2 separate regions of the Homo sapiens genome follow, and region 2 is linked to region 1. The links are contacts of gene promoters, found by promoter capture Hi-C in blood cells and fetal thymus (Javierre and others, 2016). All regions are on one chromosome and are shown on one strand. The core of a region is centred on a gene start or on the middle of the fragment in contact, and the rest is flanking DNA. Distances in the headings are between cores, read along the strand shown.

Evidence for each region. The method cuts DNA at HindIII sites, captures the fragments that hold promoters and counts their contacts. A CHiCAGO score of 5 or more calls a contact.
Region 2: a fragment that was not itself captured here is called in contact with the fragment with the promoter of KCNK18 in region 1 in 2 of 17 cell types (naive B cells and non-activated CD4 T cells); the score reaches 6.3 in naive B cells.

The regions. Positions count from the first base shown.
Region 1 is chr10:117,196,129-117,201,028 of GRCh38, reverse strand. It overlaps KCNK18 (potassium two pore domain channel subfamily K member 18), which reads right to left and starts at 3,540. Exons shown (of 3, transcript NM_181840.1): 1 at 3,318-3,540. The coding sequence starts at 3,540. It also overlaps the pseudogene RPL12P26. The HindIII fragment of the contact is 2,593 bases long and covers 2,673-4,900 here.
Region 2 is chr10:118,236,847-118,241,371 of GRCh38, reverse strand. No RefSeq gene overlaps it. Among named protein-coding and RNA genes, the nearest start is that of LINC02944, 2.4 kb to the left of the region's middle. The HindIII fragment of the contact is 1,157 bases long and covers 1,381-2,537 here.

The sequences.
Region 1 (4,900 bases), core at 2,291-4,790:
AGCTCGGTGGTCGGAGTCCTCCTTTAAAATATTTCTGCAGCCTGGGTCCTGCCTTCAGTCCCTATGGAGATAAGGAGGCCACTTAGCCCTGTGAGAAGAGCACCTAACAGAGAGGCCCATGGGGGTCCCACCAGAGCTTAGCCCTGGCATTGCTGTGTAGTCTTTGCCTTTTAATTTTCTGAACCGCCATTTCTTTCATCTGTTTTTTTTTTTTCTTGAGACAAGAGTCTTGCTCTGTTGCCAGGCTGGAGTGCAGTGGTGTGATCTCGGCTCGCTGCAACCTCCACCTCCCTGGTTCAAGCAATCCTCTTGCTTCAGCCTCCTGCGTAGCTGAGACTACAGGGGCGTACTACCACACCCATGCCCAGCTAATTTTTGTATATTTAGTTGAGACGGGGTTTCACCTCATTGGCCAGGATGGTCTCAATTTCTTGACCTTGTGATCCACCTGCCTCAGCCTCCCAAAGGGCTGGGATTATAGGCGTGAGCCACCGCGCCCCGCCTCTATCATCTTTCAAAGGAAGATAACTTCTGCTCTGCCTCTCACACAGGGTTCTCAAGTACTAAAAGCAAAAGGCTTTTAGGAAAAGCAAGCTGTTACACAGATGCAAATCATACCCACTCCTGGAGGTCATTACGCTTGATGGAGTTTGCCGGGCACGATGGCTCACGCCTATAATTGCAACACTTTGGAGGGCTAAGGTGGGCGGATCATTTGAGGTCAGGAGTTCAAGACCAGCCTGGCCAACATGGTGAAACCCTGTCTCTACTAAAAATACAAAAATTAGCCGGGTGTGGTGGCACACACCTGTGGTCCCAGCTACTCAGGAGGCTGAGGCAGGAGAATTGCTTGAACCTGGGGAGTGGAGGTTGCAGTGAGCCAAGATCGTGCCACTGCATCCCAGCCTGAGTGACAGAGTGAGTCTCCATCTAGAAAAATAAAAATAAAAACTTGATGGAGTTTGATCATCATACCATCATACTGTGATCTTTGGGCACCAGCTACCTGTGAGTGTCTCCTACAGAGCTGGGAAAACTTGACTTCCTACACATTGGTTCCAAGGCTAACAGAGCAGGGTTGGGAACCCTGGTTTCCCAGAGAGGTTCCTGAATGGCTCGATTGGCCTGAGCCGCCAGTGGGCTTTGGGACCCAGAGGCCACCTGCTAGACTTGTTCGGCTTTAAGAGAATGGCACTGAACCTGGCATGCAGCAGGAAGTCTCTACTCCTTTTAATTGGCACCAGCCTGGGAGTCTACACACATCGATTCTAGACCCAGCTCTAACCCTGATAAGTTCTGTAACTGTGGACAAGAGGCTGCTTTCTGAGCCTCAGTTTCCCCATCAGAGAGACAGCCTGAGATGGTGGTGAAAGGTTCAGGCTCTGGAATCCAGATACATGGGTTTAAGTCCCTGGTTCCATTTTTCTAGTTTGTGAACTTGGACAAATTGCTTAACCTCCCAAGGCCTCAATTTCCTAATCTGTAAAAGAAGGACAACTTTTTGTTGTTTTCTTGTGAGGCTTCTTGTGAGGATTAGGTGAGATAATGTGTGAAGTGTTTGCCACAGGGTCTACATGCAACTAACCCTTATGGAACATTTTAATCTCCAGTGAAAATCGGTACAAAATGGAGTGGGACCAGCTCTGTGTTCCCATACCCTGCTGTGCATTGGAATCACCTGATAAACTTTATTTTTACTTATTTATTTTTGAGACATCTCTGGCTCTGTCATCCAGGCTGGAGTGCAATGGCACAATCACGGCTCACTGTAGCCTCAAACTCGTAGGCTCAAGCAATCCTCCTGCCTCAGCCTCCCAAGTAGCTGGGACTACAAGTGCACGCCACCTCATCTGACTAAATTTTTTAATTTTTTATAGAGACAGGGTCTCACCTTGTTGCCCAGGCCTAGTCTCAAACTCCTGGCCTCAAATGATTCTCCCACCTTGGCCTCCCAAAATGCTAGGATTATGGGCATGAGCCACCATGCTTGGCCTTATCCTTGAAACTTTAAGATTCCCAGCCCAGCCCTGGAGATCCTGATTAAGTGGGTTTGGAGAAGAGCCTGGGGATGTGTACTCTAGGCAGTCTCCCTGGTTGATTCTGATGTGTTGCTGGCTTAGAGAGCCTTGAACTTGCTGGTAGTCTAGGCCCTGCGATGGTGCAGTGTCCCTTTGGCAGCAATCTCCCAGGTCCACTGAGCAGGCTGGCGTCTGTCTGGCAAGGATGCAGGGAGTGGGACCCTCCACAGACAGGAGACTCTGCCTCCCTGGACTGGCCTCTTGTCTCTGGGAGCTGCACCTGTTCCCAAATCAAGGTCTGGGCTGTGGAAGGAGCCCCCACACCAGAGTGGGAGGGGAGGGGCTCCCTGCACCCCATTCTTCTCCTGACTTTTAGTGTCTGGTTTTCCTTTGTTTTTCATTTATCTACTCTCCCTTGTTTTATCTTGCTCTGTTGAATACAATAACAAGCTTCCTTCGAGGAACACAGCAGAGTAGAAACAAGTGACTAAATATGAAGAAAATGCAATGAGGACACTATAAAGTGACTTCTGTCTTCCAAGAGCCAGAATGTTCCTTGTCTCCTCTGCTTCTCACAGGGTCCCTGTGACCACCAAGTCTGAGATTGGGGGTCCCCTTCTCTCCCGCAGACTGAGACCCAGAGAGAACAAAGCTTTGCCTCCACGGATTGCAGAGCAAGCTGGGAGAGCAGCCAGGACAACAGCCAGGACCCCCACCCCTCCCCCCAGGTCTTCTCACAACACCTCCCCACTCCGCTGAGCCAGACAGCAGAAAAGGAGTTTGAAACAGGAAGTGGGGGCGTGGGTGGCAGGTGCTCCTGCTGGAATTTAAATCCAATTTGGGTTGTTCCCTAAATTCTCATCCCTGCAAACTGAATCCTGGGTCAGGCAGACATAGTTCTGAAAAGCAAGCTAGCCCCCCAACCCCAGCCCCAGATTTGCTCACCCATGCACCCCACCCCACCAAATTCCCAGTAATCCATCGTCCCCTGAGGCCACTGGTCTGGATGGGGCTGGGTGCTGAGGCACAGGAAGGGGAGCTGGTCTTTCCTGAGCACCTCAGGGTGCTCAGGGCCTTTCCTGCATTCTTCACAGCAACCCTGAGAGGCAGTTAGTCTCCCCACTTTTCAGAGGAGAAAACAGAGGTTCAGAAAGAAGTTACTCGCTTAAAGTGCCCAGGCATGAGGAGGATCCAGGCAGGCAGCTCCCAGACCCAGCCTCCTAGAAGGCAGCCCTCTGCTCTTGGGGGACTGCTGCCACCACGGAGAAAAGGCCCACCCTGTCCAGGTGAGGCACCTACCTGTTTCACTGCAGTTCAAGATTCTGCAGAGCTCCTCCAAGAACTTCTCAAACTCTCCATCATCTGCTGCCACCAGGACCTGGCCGTCCTCAATGGCAGAGAAGACCACAGCACCCACCAGGGCGTAGGTCACCAGAAAGCAGAGGAAGCAGAGGCCAGGGAAGAGCTTTCCCAGGGCCTCTGGGCAGCATCTCCTGGCCTGGGGGTGCCCCGAGACCTCCATCGTCCCTGAAGCATGCAGGGCAAGAGGAGCTGGTGGAAGAGGCAGGAGCATCTAAGCCCCGCCAGGAAGATGGGGTAGGAGTGCCCGGAGAACAGCCAGGCTCCAGTGCTAAGTGGATGGTGCGTGTGCTTCCCCAAGGACTCAGGAAGCAGCCGGCAACTCATCATGTTCAGTTCTTCCGAACTACTCAGATGGCGCCCTCCCTAGCACCCCAGATTGCTATTGATCCGCTGGGCCGGCCCTGGAGCTGCCTGGAAGGGGCTTTGGGAGGATAGTGTGGTTGTTGTTTTGTGCTACGTTTAATCTTTTCTATGCCCAAACTGCAGTTTTGAATTGCAGATCCCAAACCTGATCTTTGGCGTTTAGTCAAGTGATTCTTTCCTGAGAGCTGTCTGTGACACAACTTGGCTTAGGGTACCTGGTCTTCTGGACAGGTGATAATAGTAGTAACCTATAATAGTAACAGTAACCATAGTAACTAATGCGGCCAGAGCTCAATGGTTTCCAAAGGACCTTTATCCTGTGTGGATCTAATTATTGGTCCCAATTCTTCACTCCCCTGCTGCATACCCCCCCTTGCTGGGGCCTCACGGTGGGCAGAGTGTACTTCCTTGAACTTGGCTTTAGGGTAGGTCATCTCACTTGCTCCAGACAGCTGGGCATTAGCAGATGTGATGCAAGCAGGGGCTAGGCCTGTGCTTGTGCATTTGGACTTGCTTAGCTATGCCTGTGTCTGCCATGAGAAAAGGTGCCCCACCTTTCAATTTTCAGCTCAGAGTAGACCAATGTGCAACTTTCTTTGGTGGTCCTGAATCCAGGTTCATCCAACACCACCTACCTCCACCATACAGCCTAAGTTTGACCCCAACGAGATTAAAGTCTGAGATGCACCGGGAATGATGTTGGTGCCACATCTGTGCTGGCCCCTAAGATCAAACCCCTGTGTCTGTCTCCAAAACACATTGGTAATGACATCGTTAGGGCAACCGGTGATTTGAAGGATCTGAGGATTACAGTGAAACCATTCAGAACAGGCAGGCATAGATTGAGGTAGTACCTTCTGCCTCTGCCCTGATCATCAAAGCCCTCAAGGAACCTCCAGGAGACAGAAAGAAACAGAAAAACATTAAACCCAATGAAAATATCATTTGATGAGAATGTCAACATTGCCTGACAGATGCAGCTCCAATCTTTAGTTAGGGAACTCTCTGGAACAATTAAAAAGATCCCGGGGACTGCACCATCTGTGGGCTGCAATGTTGATGGTCACCACCCTCATGACATCAACAGTGGTGCAGTGGAATGCTCAGCTTGTTAAGCACAAAGGAAAATATTTCAATAAAGGATCATTTGACAACCA
Region 2 (4,525 bases), core at 710-3,209, 1.0 Mb before region 1:
CCTCCAGCAATTCCTCCAAGACAACTTCACTATTACGTTGTTTTCATTTCGATCCTTAAATGGTACCGGTTTACGTTTTGGAAGTAGGGGGACATTTTCAGTGGACGAGCCTAAATCAGAATGTGTGCTGTTGTATTTACGCATCACCGTTAATAAACATTAGCACTTAAAGCTGAATTAAGGCACATCGTTAAATGTCAGTGTGTATCTACCCACTTATCTACGAATGTTTCAACAAACATCTATTAAGTGTCTACTACTATGTGCGAAATGTGACTCGTTCTTCTAAAATACTGAAAGGACGTTTTATTACCAGAAAGTAATACAAGTATCAGAAAATAAAGACATTTTACGTTGCACAGTTGGGTCATTGATATAATGTTAAAATTAAATACATTAGCTCTTTCTTAGCTGAGGTTTTGTTTTCTGTGGTTTCATTTACCTGTGGTCAGTTGTGGCCCCAAAAAATTAAATGGAAAATTTCAGAAATAATTCATAAGTTTTAAATTGCATGCCATTCTCAGTTGCATGCTGAAATCTCTCATCCTCTGTCCCACCTGGGAGGGGAATCTTCTCTTTGTCCAGCATATCCACACTGTCTAAGCTACCTTCCTGTCAGTCACACGGTAGCCATCTCAGTTATCACATAGACTGTCACCGTTTCCCAGTGCTTGTGTTCAAGTAACCCTCATTTTGTTATATAATGGCCTCAAAGCATGAGAGTAATGATGCTGGCAATTTGCATATGCCAAAAAAGAAGCCATAAAATGCATCCTTGAAGTGAAAAGGTGAAAGTTATCAGCTTAATAAGGAAAGAAAAAAATTGTATGCTGACATCTTTAAGATCTACAGTAAGAAGGAAACTTCTACCCACGAATTGTGATCAATTAGTTGTAAACACCACTGCACTTGGACCAGCTTACCCATGAATGGTAAGGAAAAAAAGAAATTCATGCATAGTATATGTAGGGTTTGGTACTATTGCAGTTTCAGGCATCCACTGGGGTCTTGGAAGAATGTATCCCCCATAGATAAGGGGGGAAGTTGTATGCTCCTGGAATTTCAGAAGCTTCTCCTTTTTTTTTTTTTTGAGACAGAGTTTCGCTCTTTTTGCCCAGGCTGGAGTGCAATGGCACGATCTTGGCTCACTGCAACCTCCGCCTCCCAGGTTCAAGAGATTCTCCTGCCTCAGCCCCCTGAGTAGCTGTGATTACAGGCATGTGCCACAAAGCCCGGCTATTTTTGTGTTTTTAATAGAGACGGGGTTTCTCCATGTTGGTCAGGCTGGTCTTGAACTCCTAACCTCAGGTGATCCGCCCACCTTGGCCTCCCAAAGTGCTGGGATTACAGGCGTGAGCCACTGCACCCGGCCCAGAAGCTTCTTTTCTTGATATAGAATAAATCTGAATGTCAGGGGGAAAAATCACATGAAACACCTTGCAAATTATCTTTCCCCTTATAGCAAAATATGATTCTCCTTGCCTTAAAGAATGTAAATTCCTATAAAGAAAATAAATTAATAAAACATACAAGTCCTATAGTGGAATCACTTTTTCTTTCATGTCCATTGTCACCGAGTATAGAAATGAGGTATTTTATTACATAATTTTTACAAATCCGTATTAAGACAAACCTTAATAGGAATGACTTTATCACAAAGTGTTCAGAAAGACATGAGAAAACATCCCCAAAAGTTAGTTCCATATCTGTGGAGAAAATGAAGCAATCTCTAAGATCATTTCCACTTTTAAAAGTCAGCGGTTTTAAAAAAACTAGTGGCATTTGAGTTATTTCACCCTTCTCAAAATAGGTGTGATATTTCTTCTAAGCCAATCTCTAACTGAAAGAAAAGAATGGTCTCATTTTTAGAATTACTGGCTGTTTGTTTGAACTGAAGAATTAGTTGCATTTCAAAATAAGGACATGCCTAATGAAATGATTAAAACATACAGAACATTAAATTATAAGCAGATGGGGGTGAAACCAAGGGAGGGGGGAGGTGAGTTTGCTGGAAACCTGAAGTCCAGGGAAGCTGACAGCTTTGGGTTTTCCTCAATAACACAGAAGATGATTGTTTAAGCAACAGAGGGTAAGAAAACAACCTTTGGAAGACAATCTCTCTCTCTCTCTCTCTCTCTCTCTCTCTCTCTCCTGTCTCTTTTTTGATAGGCAGCACCTTACAAGAAAAGCCAGAAAAGAAAACCCGTGTGTATTGTAAGAGTTTAAAGAGACAGCCACTCCAAAAGAAAATGGACATTCACATTGACGCCTGGAAAAGAACCAGGAGTCACCATGCAAATGTGTCATAGCAGCGAGAAGTCCTGTGAAAGCGAAGGAGATCAGCCAGGCTCCCGTGAGTCACGGTTCAGGATTCAGATCTTCATCTTCCTAAGACACTGATCTCACTGGTCCCAGTTATTCCTGAAACGCTGTCCCTCCTCCGTTTTCCCTGAAATTTATCAATTAAAGTACGGCTCTGTATAGGTAAAAGATAAGAGTTTGATGAGACAGAGTTTACAACAGCTAAAAAAGAAGCTTAGTGGATGGGAGTGGTTCACAGATGGTGCAAATTGTCTGCTAAGTGGCACTTTATGGATGGGCAGAATCCATGAGAGTTTTATCTTGAATTTCTATCAGGCTGCATTCAGCAGAAGCTGGTTCCCTGGAAATTGGCATTTTAAAAAAAATCTCTGTCGTGTGTCTATCTTTCCTGGATATACAATGGCAGTTTCGACCCATTCGAGCTGGCTTCCTGAACAGTGGCAGCGATTGTCTCTGAGTGTGGGTTAATGGATGTAGGTCTAGAGATAAAGGAAATAAACCCTCTAAGATGTTGTCTAATTTTTAAAAGGCATCTCGCCTTCCTCAGCTGTGTATCTTCTTTGTCTTAGATGTCTGCAAGGGAGAGGACAGCATCACTGCAGTGACTGTGGCTTGCACCCAGGGCCAGGGCCAGGCTCCAAGTGAGGGCGAGGGTCACCTTTAGAATGGAAATCGTTTCTTGCTTTAATAGCAGAAAGAACACCCTGGACATGAGTCGGTGTGTGTGCACACACGCACACAACACACACAGACACACACACATACACACACACAACACACATACACACACACACAACACACAGACACACACACAACACACACACACAACACACAGACACACACAACACGCACAGACACACACACACACAACACACATACACACACATACACACACAACACACACAGACACACACATACACACACAACACAGACACACACATATACACACAACACGCACAGACACACAGACACACACACACATACACACACACACACACATTCTTCCCATGAAGGAATTGTCTGCTCTCATTCTCTTTCAGGTAAGACCCCTCTCCCCATTCATCTAAGCTCCTCCGTGTGTCCACCGAACTATATCACATCAGCACTTCCACATCTGTCCTCATGGCACTGAGCACTTCTCTGGAAACTGACCAGTTATTGCAGAGCCTTGTTTCCCCAGCATCATCCTCCAAGAGAAGGTACAAGCTATTGATCTCGCTCTACCTCATGCCTAATTAAAATTCTCAGAGCCATCTCTTCCAGGTAGCAATGGCTATGTGTTCAGGAATTGAAGGATGGGTCTCCTTCCCAGATGATTTGCCCCATTTACCAGGCAGGTCGGGGTTCAATGGAATGCTTAGCTGCACCAATCACACTGGCAGATTAGGGAATAGTGTTGCTCCCTCCTACCTTCCCCACCCAATCACAATATGATCTTAAACTTTTCTCTTTAACCTTTAAGGTTCGTTGAATATGTCCTAATGTAAGCCTCTTTCAGTCTTTGGAAAGAAAATGGGCCATAAATATATACATTTAACACTTGTATATAAAAAAGTATAAGTAGCATCTACTGAAATTCCACCTTTAGGGATGCACTCTTTGGAGACTTGAAGGTATTCTCATCGCTTTATGAGAAAAGAACGTGCTTGGGGAGGTTATCACCCGAAACCTTTCTTTATGAGCTACTGACCAGAGTGGAAGCTGGGGGACCAGAGGCTGGAAGGGACAGGAAATTACTTAGCAGCCAATCAAAAGCAAAGCTGATCAAGGCGTTATGAGGAGATAAGACAGAACTGACCAAGGTGGGGCCTGGGGTGGGGAGAGTTGGAGATGGGGAGGAGTCAAAGGCACATGTGAGCCACTCTCTGTACCCATGTGACCCACACACTTTCCTGGTCTCTCCAGGATCCTACAGGAACAAAGGGATGCCTGTGGCTCTGCAACTGGATTGGAAGGAGCCAAAATTCTCCTGATTTGAGTTTCTGGTTCTGCTGCAGTCAGTCACACGTCCACAAAGACCTCAAATTTATGTCCTCTAAAAACTCATTGAGTAGTTGCCATCATCATCACGGTCTTCATCATGGTGGTAGAAGTTAACGGGAGCAAGTCACTCGCATTATGCCATTGAGACCTCCCCATCGCCCTGTGAAGTAAGCACCGTGTTCACCCCAAGCTCTGGTTGGAGCAGCAGTTGGAGCATAAT